Linked DNA regions of Homo sapiens: all the other regions are linked to region 2. Evidence: promoter capture Hi-C in human tissues and cell types (Jung and others, 2019). All regions are on one chromosome and are shown on one strand. The core of a region is centred on a gene start or on the middle of the fragment in contact, and the rest is flanking DNA. Distances in the headings are between cores, read along the strand shown.

Evidence for each region. The method cuts DNA at HindIII sites, captures the fragments that hold promoters and counts their contacts. A contact is called where the count stands out against the background at its distance.
Region 1: a contact is called between a fragment that was not itself captured here and the fragment with the promoter of TMEM213 in region 2, in 2 of the 25 tissues and cell types used here (H1 embryonic stem cells and mesendoderm cells).
Region 3: a fragment that was not itself captured here is called in contact with the fragment with the promoter of TMEM213 in region 2 in 2 of the 25 tissues and cell types used here (H1 embryonic stem cells and psoas muscle).
Region 4: a fragment that was not itself captured here is called in contact with the fragment with the promoter of TMEM213 in region 2 in 1 of the 25 tissues and cell types used here (H1 embryonic stem cells).
Region 5: a fragment that was not itself captured here is called in contact with the fragment with the promoter of TMEM213 in region 2 in 2 of the 25 tissues and cell types used here (H1 embryonic stem cells and liver).
Region 6: a fragment that was not itself captured here is called in contact with the fragment with the promoter of TMEM213 in region 2 in 1 of the 25 tissues and cell types used here (pancreas).

Annotation. Positions count from the first base shown.
Region 1 is chr7:138,592,828-138,595,527 of GRCh38, reverse strand. SVOPL (SVOP like) reads left to right here. Exons shown (of 16, transcript NM_001139456.2): 16 at 907-1,243. The coding sequence ends at 918. Among named protein-coding and RNA genes, the nearest start is that of SVOPL, 110 kb to the left of the region's middle. The HindIII fragment of the contact is 4,048 bases long and covers 1-2,700 here.
Region 2 is chr7:138,796,595-138,799,294 of GRCh38, reverse strand. TMEM213 (transmembrane protein 213) reads right to left here and starts at 1,301. Exons shown (of 3, transcript NM_001085429.2): 1 at 1,109-1,301. The coding sequence starts at 1,190. It overlaps ATP6V0A4 (ATPase H+ transporting V0 subunit a4), which reads left to right and starts at 1,099. Exons shown (of 22, transcript NM_020632.3): 1 at 1,099-1,261. RefSeq lists a silencer at 1,037-1,331. The HindIII fragment of the contact is 6,104 bases long and covers 1-2,700 here.
Region 3 is chr7:138,928,345-138,931,044 of GRCh38, reverse strand. All of the region lies in intron 1 of KIAA1549, which reads left to right. Among named protein-coding and RNA genes, the nearest start is that of KIAA1549, 52 kb to the left of the region's middle. The HindIII fragment of the contact is 3,450 bases long and covers 1-2,700 here.
Region 4 is chr7:139,025,393-139,028,118 of GRCh38, reverse strand. It overlaps ZC3HAV1L (ZC3HAV1 like), which reads left to right. Exons shown (of 5, transcript NM_080660.4): 4 at 1,286-1,411; 5 at 1,559-2,413. The coding sequence ends at 1,575. Among named protein-coding and RNA genes, the nearest start is that of ZC3HAV1L, 9.3 kb to the left of the region's middle. The HindIII fragment of the contact is 4,981 bases long and covers 1-2,726 here.
Region 5 is chr7:138,962,200-138,964,982 of GRCh38, reverse strand. All of the region lies in intron 1 of KIAA1549, which reads left to right. Among named protein-coding and RNA genes, the nearest start is that of KIAA1549, 18 kb to the left of the region's middle. The HindIII fragment of the contact is 7,609 bases long and covers 1-2,783 here.
Region 6 is chr7:138,615,549-138,618,408 of GRCh38, reverse strand. The region is part of intron 14 of SVOPL (SVOP like); the gene reads left to right. Among named protein-coding and RNA genes, the nearest start is that of SVOPL, 84 kb to the left of the region's middle. The HindIII fragment of the contact is 3,439 bases long and covers 1-2,860 here.

The sequences.
Region 1 (2,700 bases), core at 111-2,610, 200 kb after region 2:
TAGAATCTCCTATTCAAGTCATATCCACCTAGAAGGCTTTTCCTCTTCTGTTGACTGGGACTTGGTTTTAGCACTATGGGGAAATGATTCTGCATGATTGTTTATAGCCTTTTAAACAAACAAGTAGGTTCAATACATACAATTGTCTGGGCTAACTGGCTACATGTCTTTGGGAAAAATCTTAAAATACACACCCACACCCACTCCCCCTACTTCAGTGTTGTGAGTGGTTACCATATGAAACCACCTGACTGACACCAATACAGCTTCTAGAAATGTTTATAAGAACATGGCAAAAATAGTAACTTCCTTCCAACAACACATACAGACAGCATCCTAATAATTTGGATGAACCAACCTGGTCAATAGTTTTAAAGTGGTGTTGATTCTGTGTTACAACTACTCTAAGAAACTCTGATTCGACAAGTCTGGTAAACTAAAAATCTAAAACACTATCTAGAAGGAGAATATTGGCCAGGTACAGTGGCTCACGTCTGTAATCCTAGCACTTTGGGAGGCTGAGGCAGGTGGATCACCTGAGGTCAGGAGTTTGAGACCAGCATGGCCAACATGGTGAAACCCTGTCTCTAAAAAAAAAAAAGTTATATATATACACAGACACACACGTGTATATATATGTATGTATGTATATATGTATACATATAAATGTATATATAATGTATGTATATGTATAAAACGTGAATTTTTCTAAATGACATCTGCATTATATTAGAATTAAAAAGTTAGCATTGTATCTTCAGATACACAAAGGTAAATGCTAGGATTTTCCCTCCTAATAATTTTTTATTAAAGAATCTTCTATTACTAAAATATCAGATAGCTCAGTATGAATGGACAAGACTTTTAAAAAGTCTATTACTGATCTATTAAATAACTTTCTTCCAGCAAATTAAATGAAGACCTGCAAAGCTATGTCTACCAGATGAGAAAAATGAATTCTATCTTCAGAACTGCGGTGCATTTTTTTAAAACTTGGTTTTACTTCTGTATGCTACTCGGTAATTAGTAAAGTGATTTTTTTTTTAAAGGCATATATGGGAATGGGGTAGGTAACTGTATATTGATCTCTTCCTTGAGGAACAATATATAAAGTACTTTTATAAAATATAATTTAAGCTTTCAAAGGGGTGTGAGAGGGAGATGGTGGGGGGGAAGATGGCTTTTCTTCATTGAAATCAAGTCTGTAAACCTTTATATGAATAAATACTAAATTTTAAACTTACATTTGATATTCTCCCATGAGGTTTGTAGCTAAACTTGGACTGAAATTTTGTAGCTAAGGCAAGAACCTGGGATGATATCATTTCAAAACTACTAGAATAGCCATCAAGTTCAAATCCAAATTTGCCTATGTAACTTACAGCCTCCATAGTTTGATGAAAATTGCTTATTCATAAAATGCTTAAATTAGAGTGAGTATTACACATAATCACCAAGAAGCAGGGAATAAACCAATTTTCCCCCTTACATTCCCTATCTCTAATTTTATTTCTTTATAGGGGGAATCTTTGATTCTCATGATAAAGATTAAAGAATGCAGCAAGCTTTCCGCCATCATGTAATTACAGGCCTGCCCTATTTTATTGTGCTTCCATATATTGCACTGTTACAAACAGCATGTGCTCACTTTGTCTCTGTGTTATATTTTGGTAATCTGTTATGGTGATTGGTGACCTTTGACATTACTATTGCAATTGTTTTGAGAGTGCCACTAACCACACTCATGTAAGAAGGCAAACTTAATACATGTGTGTTCTGACTGCTCTGCCTACTGGATGATCCCCCTTCTCTCTCCTTTTCCTTAGGCCTTCCTATCCCCTGAGACTCAGTAATATTGAACTTAGGCCAAATAACCCTACAATAGCCTGTAAATGTTCAAGTGAAAGGAAGACTCGCACATTTCTCATTTTAAATCAAAAGCTAGAAATGATTAAGCTTAGTGAGGAGGGTATGTTGAAAGTTACAGGCTCAAAGCTAGGCCTCTTATGCCAAACAGCCAAGTTGTGAATGCACAGGGAGAGTTCTTGAAGGGACTACTTTAGTAAAATGCACGAATGATAAGAAAGCACAACAGCCTTATTGCTAATGTGGAGAAAGTTTGGTCTGGATAGATCAAACTATCCACAACATTCCCTTAAGCCAAAACCTAATCTAGAGCAAGAGCCTACCTCTCTGTGAAGGCAAGTGCAAGGTGAAGCAGCAAGTGCTAATGGAGACACTACAGCAAGTTATACAGATTTAGCTAAAATCACTGATGGTAGTTACACTAAACAGATTTTCATGTCGATAAAATCGTCTTCTATTGGAAGAAGAAGCCAACTAGGACTTTATAGTTACAAGTCAATGCTTGGTTTCAAAGAATAGGCTGACTTTCTTGTTAGGGACTAATGCAGCTGGTGAAGCCAATGCTCATTGACTGTTCTCAAAATTCGAGGGCCCTTAAGAATTATGCTAAATCTACTCTGCCTGTACTTTATAAATGGAACAATGCTTATGACAGAATTATCTTTTTATGGCATGGTTAATTTTTTAACCCCATTTTTTGAGACCTACTGCTGAAAAAAAGGACTTCATCTAAAACATTACTGCTCACTGACAATGCACCTAGTCACCTAAGATCTTGATAATTTAATGTCTGTTAACAAAACATCCATTCTGCAGACCATAGATCAAGAAGGA
Region 2 (2,700 bases), core at 52-2,551:
CACTCTTATTTGGGGAGGGGTGAAGTTGGAAAATAAAATGAATGTGCTTACCATAATTGCTGACATTCACTGTGTGTGTTCTATGGGCTATTTCTAAGTTCTTTACATGAAATTACATCAATTCGTCTTGACAAGCACTATGATTGTCCCCATGAGATAAAGGAGGAAACTTGGCATAGAGAGGTAAAGTCATTTGCTCGAGGTCGCATAGCTAGTGAGTCATGGAAGCTGGACCTGGGTTCAGGCTCAGCGGCTCAAGAGTGCACGTCTTGAACCTCAACACCAACACCCCTGGCAGTGGCTACAGAAGAGAGTCTGAGGATGAGAGGGGCAGACACAGGACTTTGGGGGCAGGGTTGGTTTTGGGAGCAGGAGTGTTGCAGGGCATAGAGAGTGTGGTGGTGTTCTGAGGTGGCTGAGAACAAGATCAAAGCCAGGAGCAGAAGATGGTAACCAAGGTCCCTCTGCCGTGAGTTGCAGAACCCGGCCTGGCAGGGCAAGGCAGGGGATGTAGATCAGCCTTCCAGCCTCCACAGGAAAATGGGGAGATAACCCAGCATTTCCAGTGCCCGGGGAGGCAGGAGGGTGGGAGACAGTGAATGGCAGCCCTCCTGGCAGTCAGGTTTTGTGAAAGTCGCAGAGAAAGTACAAGGGGCAGGGAGGGATGGAGGACTTAGGAAAGGGAAGGTCAGACACAAATGTGCACAGGGAGGATTGCAAAGCACGACAGCCCAGTGGGGCTGAGAAGGAGCCTTCAGGACACAGCGGACCAAGAGATATCATTTTGGTCCCCTGATGGGTGAGACTCCAGCAAATAACTTTTTCCTTTCTTTGTGGCAAAGGCCAAGAGAGGTGGCTGCTCCTGCCTTAGCTGAGGAATTGAGTATCTGATCTCCGTCTCAGGCCAACCTAAGACCCCCCCTGCCCCAGCCCCACCTCCCACCCCCTGCCTAATCCTTCAGATGAGAAAGTTCTGTTTCCTCCTTCCTTTGCGCAGGACCAACCCTGGCCAAAGAATCTTCCCCCTCCTCCTTCTTTCCCTCCCACCTCTCTTCCCTCCTTCCCTCCCCCTTCCCAGCCTGGCCATGAATAAAGCTCATAACGCTACCTGCCGAGCAAGCCGAGTGGAGGGAGGCAAAGGCCAGGCTGAGGATCAGGGTGGCCCGGGTGGCAGCGGGGAGGCGCTGCATGCTGGAGGCTGTGCTGAGTGCCCGGTGCAGGTGAGCCGGTCCTGCGGAGTTGTGCCGAGTGCCTGCTGCAGGTGAGTCGACTCCCACCTGCAGGAGCTGGAAAGCAACTCTGCCAGAGGTGAACTTATGCTGGGTGTTTGGGGGAAACACCATGGGGTGGAGCAAAGGAAACTTGGCCTGTCACACCTTCTCTCACCTCTCTAGAAGGGAAGCCAAACCGTTGGCTGAGGAAGGAAGGGAGGGGCAAGCTGTGCCCTTCTCCCCTGAGCGCAAATATTGTCCTTATTGAGAAACAAGGGGAGGACAAGAGAGATCTGTGTCATGCTGGTTCCTGGGACATGAGTTTGCTGCCTCTCCCATCTGCAGGTGTAGCATGGATGCTCAATTCCATTTGGGCCAATATTCACTGAGCACCCACTATGCTGAAGTTGGGAGATACCTGCTGTCGAAGTGCGTTAATTACAAACACGCATCATTCAACCCCAGAACCGTGTTTGAGGAATGGCTTGGGAGGATAAAGCACTGTGGGTTTCAACAGTGGAGGCCACATCTGCTGATGGGATGCTTCAAGAAGAAAATGGCATTTGAGGTTGGGCATGGGGGCTCACCCTGTAGTCCCAGCACTCTGGGAGGCTGAGGCAGGTGGATCACTTGAAGTCAGGAGTTCAAGACCAGCCTGGCCAAAATGGTGAAACCCCATCTCTAATAAAAATACAAAAATTAGCCAGGTGTGGTGGTGCATGCCTGTAGTCCCAGCCACTTGGGAAGCTGAGGCAGGAAAATCGCTTGAACCCGGAAGACAGAGGTTGCAGTAAGCTGAGATGCTCCTGACCCTGCATTCCAGCTTGGCCGACAGAGGGAGACTCCATCTCCAAAAAAAAAAAAAAAAAAAAAAAGAAAATGGCATTTGGCCTGGGCCTTGAAGGATGGCTAGAATTTTGACAGGGGGAGAGGGGAAGATGGCATTATAGGTAGAGGGACAGATGAGCAAAGGTCCAGAGGTAAGGAAGTGTCAGAGGGTGGCTGTACCAGCAGCACCCAGAAGCGCAGGTGAGCCAAGGCATGTGAGGTGGGGAGGCAAGAGGAGAGCTGTGGGCTAAGCTTCTGCGTGCCTGGTAGAGGAATTTGAAACAAAGTCAGGAAGCAAAGGGGAAGGTTCTGTAGAGATTTTGAGCTGAGGAGTAACTTGACTAGAGCTCTGCATTCCGTCTAAAACATTTATTGAAGACCCACATGTATATAAAAGGTCTCATCCTAGGCACTGGAGACTGAGATGACTGAGACACGCCTCTTCCCCTTGAGAGCACAGTGCAGCAGGGAACCAAACCCGGAAGAAAGAAATTTGATGCAACCTGGCAAGACTCAAATAGGGGTACCTTCCACTGTGATGGGAATAAAAAGGAGGATGGGATGAACTCTGCCTGAGAGGTATAGGGGAAGGATTCACAGAGAAAGTGACATTTGGGCTGGGTGCTGAAGTTTGTATGTGCAGATTAGAGTTGATGGGCTT
Region 3 (2,700 bases), core at 119-2,618, 130 kb before region 2:
GCTCCCCATCTGCTGAGACACAAGAATTTTGAAATTAGTCCAGTTTATAACTCTGCAGTGGCCTCTAAGTGCTCAAGTGAGAGGAAGAGTTGCATGTCTCTCACTTGCAGTCAAAAGCTAGAAATGATTACGTGAGGAAGACACATCAAAAGCCAAGGGAGCCTGAAAGCTGACCTCTTGCAACAAATAGATTGCCAAGTTGTGAATGCAAAGGAAAAGTTCTTGAAGGAAATTAAAAGTAGTACCACAACGAACACATGAATAATAAGAAAGCAAAACAGCCTTGTTGCTGATACGGAGAAAGCTTGAATGGTCTGGATAGATTAAATCAGCTGCAACATTCCCATAAGCCAAAGCCTAATCCAGAGCAAGGCTCTAACTCTGTTTGATCCTCTAAAGGCTGAAAAAGGTAAGGAGGCTGCAGAAGAAAAGTTTGAAGCTAACAGAGGTTGGTTCTTGAGATTTAAGGAAAGAAGCTTCTCCGTACATAGAAGTACAAGGTGTAACAGCAAATTATCCGGAGGATTTAGGTAAGATCACTGGTGGAGGCAGTTAGACTAAACAACAGATTTTCAGTGTGGATGAAGCAGCCTTCTAGGAGAAGATGTCATCTAGGACTTTCACAGCTAGAGAAGTCAATGCTTGGCTTCAGAGCTTCAAAGGATGGCTGACTCTCTTGTTAGGGGCCAATGAAGCTAGTGACTTGAAGTTGAAGCCAGTGCTCATGGACCATTCTGAAAAGTCTGGGGCCCTTAAGAATTATGGTAAGTTGGCTCTGCTTGCACTCTGTAAGTGAAACAACACAGCCTAGATGACAGCACATCTGTGTAAAGCATGATTTACTGACTAACTTAAGGCCACTCTTGAGACCTACCGCTCAGAACAAAAGATTCCTTTCAAACTATTACTGCTCATTGACAATGGACCTAGTCACCCAATAACTCTTATCAAGATGGATAAGGAGATTAAAGTTGCTTTCATGCCTGTTAACACACATCCATTCTGCAACCCATGGATCAAGAGTAATTTTGACTTTCAAGTCTTACTATATAAGAAATACATTTCATGGCTGGGTGCGGTGACTCACTTTGGGAGGCCGAGGCAGGAGGATTGCTTGAGGCCAGGAGTTTGAGACTAACCTGGGCAACATAGTGAGACCTTATCTCTACAAAAGAAAGATAAAATAAATAGCTGGGCATAGTGGCACATGCCTATGGTCCCAGCTGTTTGGGAGGTTGAGCTGTGGGGGATTCCTTGAGCCCAGGAGTTCAAGGGTGCTGTGAGCTATAATTGTACCATTGTATTCCAGCTTGGGAAATAGAGCAAGGCACTGTCTTAAAAAACAAAACAAAACAAAAAGATAAAAGAAATATATTTCATAAGGCTATATAGCTGCCATAGGTAGCGATTTCTCTCATGGGTCTGAGAAAAGTACGTCAAGAACATTCTGGAAAAGGTTCACCATTCTAGATGCCATAAAGAATATTCGTGATTTATGAGAGACAGCCAAAATATCAACATTAACAGAAGTTTGGAAGAAGTTGATGCGAAACCTCATGAATGACTTTGAGGCATTCAAGACTTCAGTGGAGGAAGTCACTGCAGATGGAATGAAGAACCTGAATTAGAAGCAGAGCCAGAAGACATGACGAATTGCAGCACTCATGGTCAAACTTAAACAGACGAGGAGTCACTTCTTATGGATGAGCAAAGAAAGTGGTTTCTTGAGATGGAACCTAGTGCTGGTGAAGATGCTGTGAATATTGTTGAAATGACAACAAAGGATGTAGAATATTCCATAAGCCTAGTCGATAAAACAGTTGGCAGAGTTTGAGAGGATTCACTCCAATTTTGAAGGAAGTTCTACTGTGGGCCAAATGCTATCAAACAGCATCACAGGCTACAGAGAAGTCTTTCATGAAATGAAGCATCAATTGATGAGGCAAACTTCATTGTCTAAGATAAAGCCACCCTAACCTTCATCAGCCACCCACCCTCATCAGCCAGCAGCCGTCAACACTGAGATAAAACACCACCAACAAAAAGATTGCAACTCGCTGAAGGCTTAGACAATTGTTAGCATTTTTAACAATGAAGTATTTTTAGTTAAGATGTGTACATTTTTTTTAATGTATTTTTTATTATACTTTAAGTTCTAGGGTACATGTGCACAACATGCAGGTTTGTTACATATGTATATATGTGCCATGTTGGTGTGCTGCGCCCATTAACTTGTCATTTACATTAGAGGGATAGCATTAGGAGATGTACATTGTTTTTTTAAGACATAATGCTATTGTGTACTTAATAGACTACAGTATGGTATAAACATAACTTTTATATGCACTGGGAAACAAAAAAATTTGTGTGACTTGCTTTATTGTGATATTTGCTTTATTAAGTTTGTCCAGGACCAAACCTGCAACAAAGGTGTATTTATACATCAAGAATGCCTTTAGGCTGGGCATGGTGGCTCATGCCTACAATCCCAGCACTATGGGAGGCTGAGGCGGGTGGATCACCTGAGGTCAGGAGTTTGAGACCAGCCTAGCCAACATGGTGAAACACTGTCTCTATTAAAAATACAAAAATTAGCTGGGCGTGGTGGCACGTGCCTATAGTCTCAGCTACTCGGGAGGCTGAGGCAGGAGAATTGCTTGAACCTGGGAGGCAGAGGTTGCAGTGAGCTGAGATTGCACC
Region 4 (2,726 bases), core at 189-2,688, 230 kb before region 2:
TCAGGCATGAGCCACACGCCCGGCCTAGTAGAACAGTTTTAATGGCATAGTTAGGAAAAAGAGGAAGGAGATGGGCCGGTGAGTGGAAAAGTAAGATTAATGTAGGGATGGCTTTCTTGTCATAAATATAATTTTTGGCTTTGTTAATTTTTAAGTAATTTTAATGACATTACAGAACAATTTGGAAAATAGCAACTGGAAATGAAAATTGTATATGATTTTGCTCACTCTAATCTACTATACTTGTTACAATTTTATTATAGGCCCTTCAGTTCTGTTATATACAAACACGAATCCAATTGTGCTCAAAGTATATGTTAATTTAATATCTTAAATTTCTACTTTATACAACATCATATTTTCCCATATTGCTAGGAATATTGCATATTCCCATTATAAATATATTCCCATAGTCTTTCAGTAATTTTTATTGTTGTTTTTGAAGACAGGATCTTGCTCTGTTGCCTAGGCTGGAGTACAGTGGCACAGTCATGACTCACTGCAGCCTCGAACTCCTGGGCTCAAGTGATCTTTCTGCTCAGCCTCCCTGGTAGCTGGGACTGCAGGCACATGCCACCATGTCCAGCTATTTTTTAAAATTTTTCTTTTGTAGGGACAAGGTTTTGCTATGTTGACCAGGCTGGTTTTGAACTCCTGGGCTCAAGCAGTCCTCCAGCCCTGGCCTCCCAAAGTGTTGGGATGACAGGCGTGAGCCACTGCACCTGGCCTTTAGTAGTTTTTTAGTCTACAAAGTGTGGTTTGGTGTTCTTTTAATTCTAATGCATTCAGTTACTTATTCTGTTACATTTGCTGGTACCTAGAAATCAGTGGGTGGTAGGCTTAGGAGAATTGCTGTTGGGAAAGGTAAATCACCAAAGGCGGAGTTGCTAAGCTTTCACCATCGAGTTTTCATGTGTTGGGATGTTAGTGTCAGACGTAGTGAGTGCAGACAGGGAGGGCTCTGCATATACCAGTGTCGGGCTGTTTAGGGAACTGTGAATGGTGGCAGGTACCTTCTACCCTATGCTGTGTCTAGGGCCTGTCATTGTCTTCATCTGGTTTCGTTTGGTGAGTCTCTCCTGTGACATAGTGACTTTCCGCTTGCTCTCTCTCTCTCTATTTTTTATACACACACACATACAATTTTTTAAAATCCAGAAGACATGAACTCTCCAAATCCATGTGTTGGGAGTCTTGTCTGATGGCTGGTTAGCTGGGCTGTTGCTCCCAACGTAAAATGAAACTTGGGGTATCGTAGGAAAACTTATCCCTTTCCTCTTTGTAGATAATTCATCACCTTCGACTGAGCATTCACAAGGCCTTGAGAAGCAAGGAGTGCACGCAGCTGGAGCTGCAGAAGCTGGTCCTCTGGCTTCTGTCCCTGCTCAGTCGGCCAAGAAGCCCTGCCCAGGTAAACCTTAAAGGGGGTCAGTGAACTAAGAAGAAGCTTGTCCAGCTTGGAAGATCTGAAAACAAGCCTTCTGTTTAGCTTTAATTTGTAACCATTCATTCATTTAATGATAGATTTGTAATGGTCATAATAATATCTACCTCACAGTGTCTTGCGAGAAGTAAAGAAGATGGAAAAGGAGAAAATGTCCTTTTGGAAGAATACATTTGGGCATGGGTGGTTGGGGATGGGGTGGGACATTGAACAGGCAAAGAGAGGCTAAAATTGAGTGCAGATGGGGCTAGTCCAGGGCAAGTGCTGAAGATGGCAGCTGCTATCTGCAGCTCCTAGGTGCTTTCCTCAGGCTGGGTAGATGGAGCTCTGCTGACTTCTGTGGTCCACCATTGTTTTTCTATCAATTTATATTGTGGCAATCCTAGAGTACTTTGCACTCATTTTTTTTTTTCACTTAATATTGTCTCATAAGCATCTTTCTATATTTGTTCACATCGTACATAATCATGTTTTTGCACAGATACATTAATATTATCATAGTTTGTTTAACTACTTGGCTTTTTCTAACAGTTTTTTTTTTTGAGATGGTCTTGCTCTGTTGCCCAGGCTGGAGTGCAGTGACGTGATCTCGGCTCACTGCAGCCTTGACTTCCTGGGCTCAAGTGATCATCCCACCTCAGCCTCCTGAGTAGCTGGGACTACAGGTATGCACCACGACCAGCTAATTTTTTGTATTTTTTTTTTGTAGAGAGGGTATTTTGCCATGTTGCCCAGGCTAGTCTTGAACTCCTGGGCTCAAGCGATCTGCCTGCTTCAGCCTCCCAGAGTGCTAGGATTACAGGCATGAGCCACTGCACCCAGCCTCTTAACAAATTTTGAATATAACTCCTGTCTTAAAATCTGCAGAATATTGAATTTTTCCAGCTATTTTTTACTTTTGCTTAGCTTATAGATGCTAAAGGATACTGTCATTTGCATTTTTAAAAATATATGTATGAGTGAATAGTTTTCTGGTGTCTGCTTTCTGATTGTTCTTATTTTTTCATTTTATATTTGGCCTTTTATTAATGGGGCCCTCATCTATGCTGATGTGGGACAGCCTTTAACGAGGCCTCAAATTTTCATGAAAGGACCTCAGCAATACTGTGCTTGGATGATATTCAATTTTTGTAGGTCCATCCTCAGCCAGTAGTACAGAGTATATAACCTTTGGGTTCTCTCCAGAGACTTCTACCTCACTCTGTCTACTCTTTTTTTTTTTTTTGGAGACAGAGTTTCACTCTTGTTGCCCAGGCCGGAGTGCAATGGCGCGATCTCATCT
Region 5 (2,783 bases), core at 48-2,547, 170 kb before region 2:
TCTCAAAAAAAAAAAGAAAAAAAAACAAAGAAAAAAAACACTGCTATGAGCATCGTTGTGTATACATCTTTACACACTTTTCCAATTACTTTCTTAAGATAAATTCTCAGAAATAGACTTGCTGGACTAGGCAGTATGCACATATTAAATTTTGATGCATATTGCCAAATCGCTCTCTAGAAAGGCTGAAGCAATCCACATTCTCTCTAGCAATGCACCAGAGTGCCAGCTTGCTTCTCTCCTCCATAATACAGGCTGTGACCAGTCTTTATTGTCTTTGCCCAACTCATAGGTAAAAAATATCTCCATTAAAGGTGCATTTCTCTGATTGTTCATTGGCATTTGGGCCTTTGAATAAGGTTCTCTTTGCACTTCTTTCTCTGGTCCTCTCCTGCAGCAGTCTCAGGGGCTGAGCTGGGAATAATAATAATACCCAACAATTATAGAGTGCATGCTGTGTGCCAAACATTGTGTGAGGAGACGGCACAGTGTCTCTTGTTTAATCCGTGCAACAATTGCATGAGGTAGGTACTGTAAGGATCCCCATTTTACAGATGAGGAAAATAAAGCTTAGAGAAGTTCATTGACTTGCTCACACAGCTAGCAAGAGTTTTTCCCACCCTGGGGGTGGGCATGTGCACCCCCAGCCACGGTCTCCTCTGTTCTGGGTCTGGGTTAGAGAATGACTCTGTGGTCTCTCCCACTGAAGTGCCCACTCACAGGCTTTGCTTGCAGGGCAGAGTGAGCTCTGTGGACAGAGCCCCAGTCAGAGCCACCTGTGGCCCCTGGCCAGCTCCCTGTCCCTGTTAGAAGCCCTGACTGTGAAGTCACAGCCTGGCCTAGCCCATAGAAGATGCTCACCAAACGTAGGTTAAGAGAAATGAATGAAGCAGGCTTTCAAAACCTACAGTGTTGTGTGGTGGTGCATTTTACTTTATTTCGGCAAATTAAACATTTTAACAATAAAAAAACTCAAAAAGTTAAAATTCCATGATGAGCCATATTCCATTTTCTCCACCAGTGAGGATAATATTTTTCTTAATACTGAGTGACATTTTCTTGCCGCATTTCCTCTTTTATCACGTCCTGGATCATTTCCTTGTGGTTTTGATACCATTTTTGCTTTGTGTTGACTATGCTGTTTTTCTGTTGTTTGTTTCTGACAGCCAAGTGTGTGGTTGTCATACATCTCCTCCGTTAATTAAGTTAGTGTATACCACTGGTTTAAAATCAATTTCTTATTTACTTTGGAATTTTGGTGGGAGGAAGTCGATGCCTTAAAATGAGTACTTTGTTCAAAAACTAACTGGTACAGCCGGCTGTCCTACTTCGTTTGTTTTATATGCCCCTTGAGCCTTTTTGGTTCTTCATAAAACACAGTGTATTAATGCCTTGAGTTCTTGCCTAGATCTGGTATAAAGTTTAACCTTCTGAATACTTCCCAGAAATCCTGAACCTGCAACTGTTCTATTTTGTTCGTTGTAGTTTATATTGACTTTACTCATTGACAGCCTTCAGGTTCCTCTACTCCCTCTTCCAATTGTGTTCAGTTCCCCGAGAGGAAAACAAGATATACCTGTAGAATGTGTACCCTATCAGGCTGGGTAAACCAGCAGTGCTGTGGAAAGTTTCCAAATCTCAGTGGCTTTCCGCATGTGACTTCTGCCTCCCACCAGCAGATCTTGCCCTTCATCTCTCTCCTGCACCTTTTGCATCTTGTCTGGTTCTGGGAAGTGTGCTTGCCTGGGTCCTGTTTTTCATTCTTCCATCTTTGTTTTGGGTTTGCCAGTGCCAGAAGGCATGCCTGCAGGCAGGCCAGTTGTGTGGTAGTTCCATGCCCACATGTCTGCATGACTCAGCCAACATTGATGGAGCACTCACTGCCATGTGCTGAGCACCGTGCTGGATGTTGGGATACTAAGAGAAATACGGCAGTCAGTCACAGCCCTCTAGCAACTCCGTCTACAAGGGGAAGTTGTTCTGTACGTAAGTGACTATCCAGTGGCATGTGAAGTGCTATTGTAGAGGACTGCGGTGGTGATACAAAGAGGGCAGTAACTGTTGGTGGATGTAGGACCGCAGAACTGTGGGGGATGTTTGAAGATGGATATGAGATGGAACATTCTTTTAAAGCTAAAGGGGAGCCTCATTTTGGTTATCTATTGCTGCATAACAAATCACCCTGAAACAGAATGGTTGAAAACAGTAATGGTTTATTATTTCTCATGATTCTGCGGGTCAGGAATTCGGACAGGTCTCGGATGGATAATTCTGCTCCATGAAACTCAGCTGGGGTCACTCACTTGGCTGTGTTCGGTTGGCTCCAGGGCTGGGCTGGAAGGCTGAGGCTGTTTCACCCCCTCCTACCTTCATGTCCCACCACATTCCCTCCCTCTCTCTTCCCAGGTGACCAGCTTGGACTTCTTATAGTAGGACTTCATATGGGGCCGCTGGCTTCTAAGGGGAATGAAGCAGGAGCTAGCGGCCCTCTTAAGATCTGGAGCTCAAAAGTTGTCTCTGATGCATTCTGCTGGTCAGAGAAAATCACAAGACTAGTCCACAAGGGGCAGGAGGAAATAGGGCTACCCACTGATGGGTGGTGAAATAGCCTAGACATTGACATTGATGGTGGTCGTCTTTGGAGATTAGCAGCTACCATAAGCACAAAATGGTTGAAGGTAATGGAGAGAAAAGATACAATTACTTGAGAAAGCTCTCAGAGAAGACTAGGATAAATGATGATGATAGTAGACATAATAATAGGTAACTAAAATCGAATGTGC
Region 6 (2,860 bases), core at 309-2,808, 180 kb after region 2:
GATTACAGGTGTGAGCCACCGTGCCCAGCCTGCTACCCTCCTTTCTAAAGTGGAGATAAAGAATAGCACCTACTACAGAGTTTTGCTCTAAGGATGAAATGAGATGAATAAATGTAAAGCAATTAACCCAATGTTTGACATACAGTAAGCACTCGGTAAATGTGAGCTAATATTATCATGATGATCAATAACGGTCAAGGTGAAACGCTATTCCAATGGATACTTCTCAATAATTTAACTTTGGAAAGTATTGTTGTATCAATTTCTGTGCAATCGAGATGCTCTGCTTTCCTTAACAGGTTTAGATTGGGGAGGTTTCGAATCTGGGAAGCTTTGTGCCAGCTCCTAGGATATTTGCCTCGGTTTAGGGTGGTGTGAGCTGCTCCAAGTAGACAGTAGGGTTTGGTGTCACTTTCATGAGCTAATTAGTCACTTTCCTGAAAGGTAGTTCTCAAACTTTAGTGCTTCTCAGAATTACTAGGGTAACTTGATCACAGATCCTTGGATTCCACTCACAGATGCCGATTGTGTAGATGGGATCAGTTACCTACTTTCCTCCCCACCTCCACCTTAAAGATAAGGTCTCACTGTGTCACCCAGGCTGGAGTACAGTGGCATGATCAGGGCTCACTACAGCCTCAACTTCCTGGGCTCAAGTAATCCTCCCACCTCAGCCCCACAAGTAGCTGGGACTACAGGCATGTGCCACCATGCCTGGCTAATTTTTTTGAATTTTAGTAGAGATGAGGTCTCACTGTGTTGCTCAGCCTGGCCTTCCAAGATCCTCCTACCTTGGCCTTTCAAAGTGCTGGGATTACAGGTGTGAACCGCTGAGCCTGGCCTCAGTTACTTATATTTTTAAGTATCCCCAGCAAATCTGATGCAGCTGATGGCGGGCCACCCTCTGGGGAGGCACAGCTATCAATAGGGAGGACTGGGAGATGAGTTCTTCCTTTCACTTAATTCTTCCTCTTGTTCTTCCACTTTTTCTTTTTCCTTCTTCTTGCTCCTCCTTCTTATTTTTTTGCCTAAAACATGCTGTTAAACCAGTTAAACTAAAAATTTTAATCAGTAATATGTTTACATATCCTAATGACTATAAGCTTAATACAAAAGTCTCTTTTAAAATGAATGTTTCAGGCTGGGCACAGTAACTCACACCTGTAATCCCAGCACTTTGGGAGGCCAAGGTGGACAGATCACATGAGGCCAGGAGTTAGAGACCAGCCTGGCCAACACGGTGAAACCTCGTCTCTACTAAAAATATAAGAATTAGGCCAGGCGTGGTGGAGGGTGCCTGTAATCCCAGATAGTTGGGAGGCTGAGGCATAAGAATCGCTTGAACCTGGGAGATGGAGGTTGCACTGAGCCAAGATTGTGCCACTGCACGGCAGCCTGGATGACAAAGCGAGACTCTGTCTCAGAATAAATAAATAAATTAATTAATTGAATGTTCCAGCCAGGCATGATGGCATGCACCTATAGTCCCAGCTACTCAGGAGGCTGAAGTGTGAGACTTGGTTGAGCCTGGGAGTTCGAGGCTGTGATGAGCTATGTTTGCACCACTGCACTCTAGCCTGGACAACAGAGTAAGACTCTGTCATAAATAAACAAATTAATTAATAATAATTCACCCACTGAAAAACTTTAAGAACATTTTAAGATATTTAGTTGTTAGAAACTAATGATAGTAAAAAATAATAGTAGTCATGAGTATGTAGTCCAAGAAAACAATAAAGGAAAATTTTGCAACAAAAGTATTTAAAGATTCAGGGCCAGGTGTGGTGGCTCATGTCTGTAATCCCAGCACTTTGGGCGGCTGAGGCCGGTGGATTACCTGAGGTCAGGAGCTCGAGACCAGCCTGACCAACATGGAGAAACCCTGTCTCTACTAAAAATATAAAATTAGCTGGGTTTGTTGATGCGCGCCTGTAATCCCAGCTATTCGGGAGGCTCAGGCAGGAGAATTGCTTGAACCTGGGAGGCGGAGTTTGTGGTGAGTCAAGATCATGCCATTGCACTCCAGCCTGGTCAACAAGAGCAAAACTCCATCTCAAAAAAAAAAAAAGTATTAAAGATTCACTGAAACACAGAAGGGACCAGTGCAAGGCCTCTGCCAATAGGTCAAGGGCTGCCTCCGCACTTATTCTGGGAAACTTCAAGAGATCAGTCACTTTAGCCCTAGCTAGGTGTCTTAGTTCAGGCTGCTATAGCATGTACCACAGACTCTGGGTGGCTTATAAAAACAGAAACTTATTTCTCATAGTTCTGGAGGCTTGAAGTTCAAGATCGGGCACCCACATGTTTGGGTTCTAGTGAGGGCTCTCTTCTCGGCTTGGAGACAGCTACCTTCTTGTGTCCTCACATCCAGAAAGAGGGGAAAGAGTTTTTTCTGGTCTCTTTTATTTTTATTTTATTTAAAAATTTTTTTCCTTTCTTAAACTGGGTCTAGTGAGGGCTCTCTTCTCGGCTTGGAGACAGCTACCTTCTTGTGTCCTCACATCCAGAAAGAGGGGAAAGAGTTTTTTCTGGTCTTTTATTTTTGTTTTATTTTTTAAAAAATTTTTCCTTTCTTAAACTGGGTGGTACATCTGTGATCTTTTTTTTCCTCCCCCAGACGGAGTCTCACTCTGTCGCCCAGGCTGGAGTGCAGTGGTGTGATGTCGGCTCACTGCAACCTCCGCCTCCCAGGTTCAAACAGTTCTCCTGCCTCAGCCTTCCAAGTAGCTGAGACTACAGGCACCTGCCACCATGCCTAGCTAATTTTTGTATTTTTAGTAGAGATGGGATTTTACCATGTTGGCCAGGCTGGTCTCAAACTTTTTTTTTTTTTTTTTTTTTTTTTTTTGGAGACGGAGTC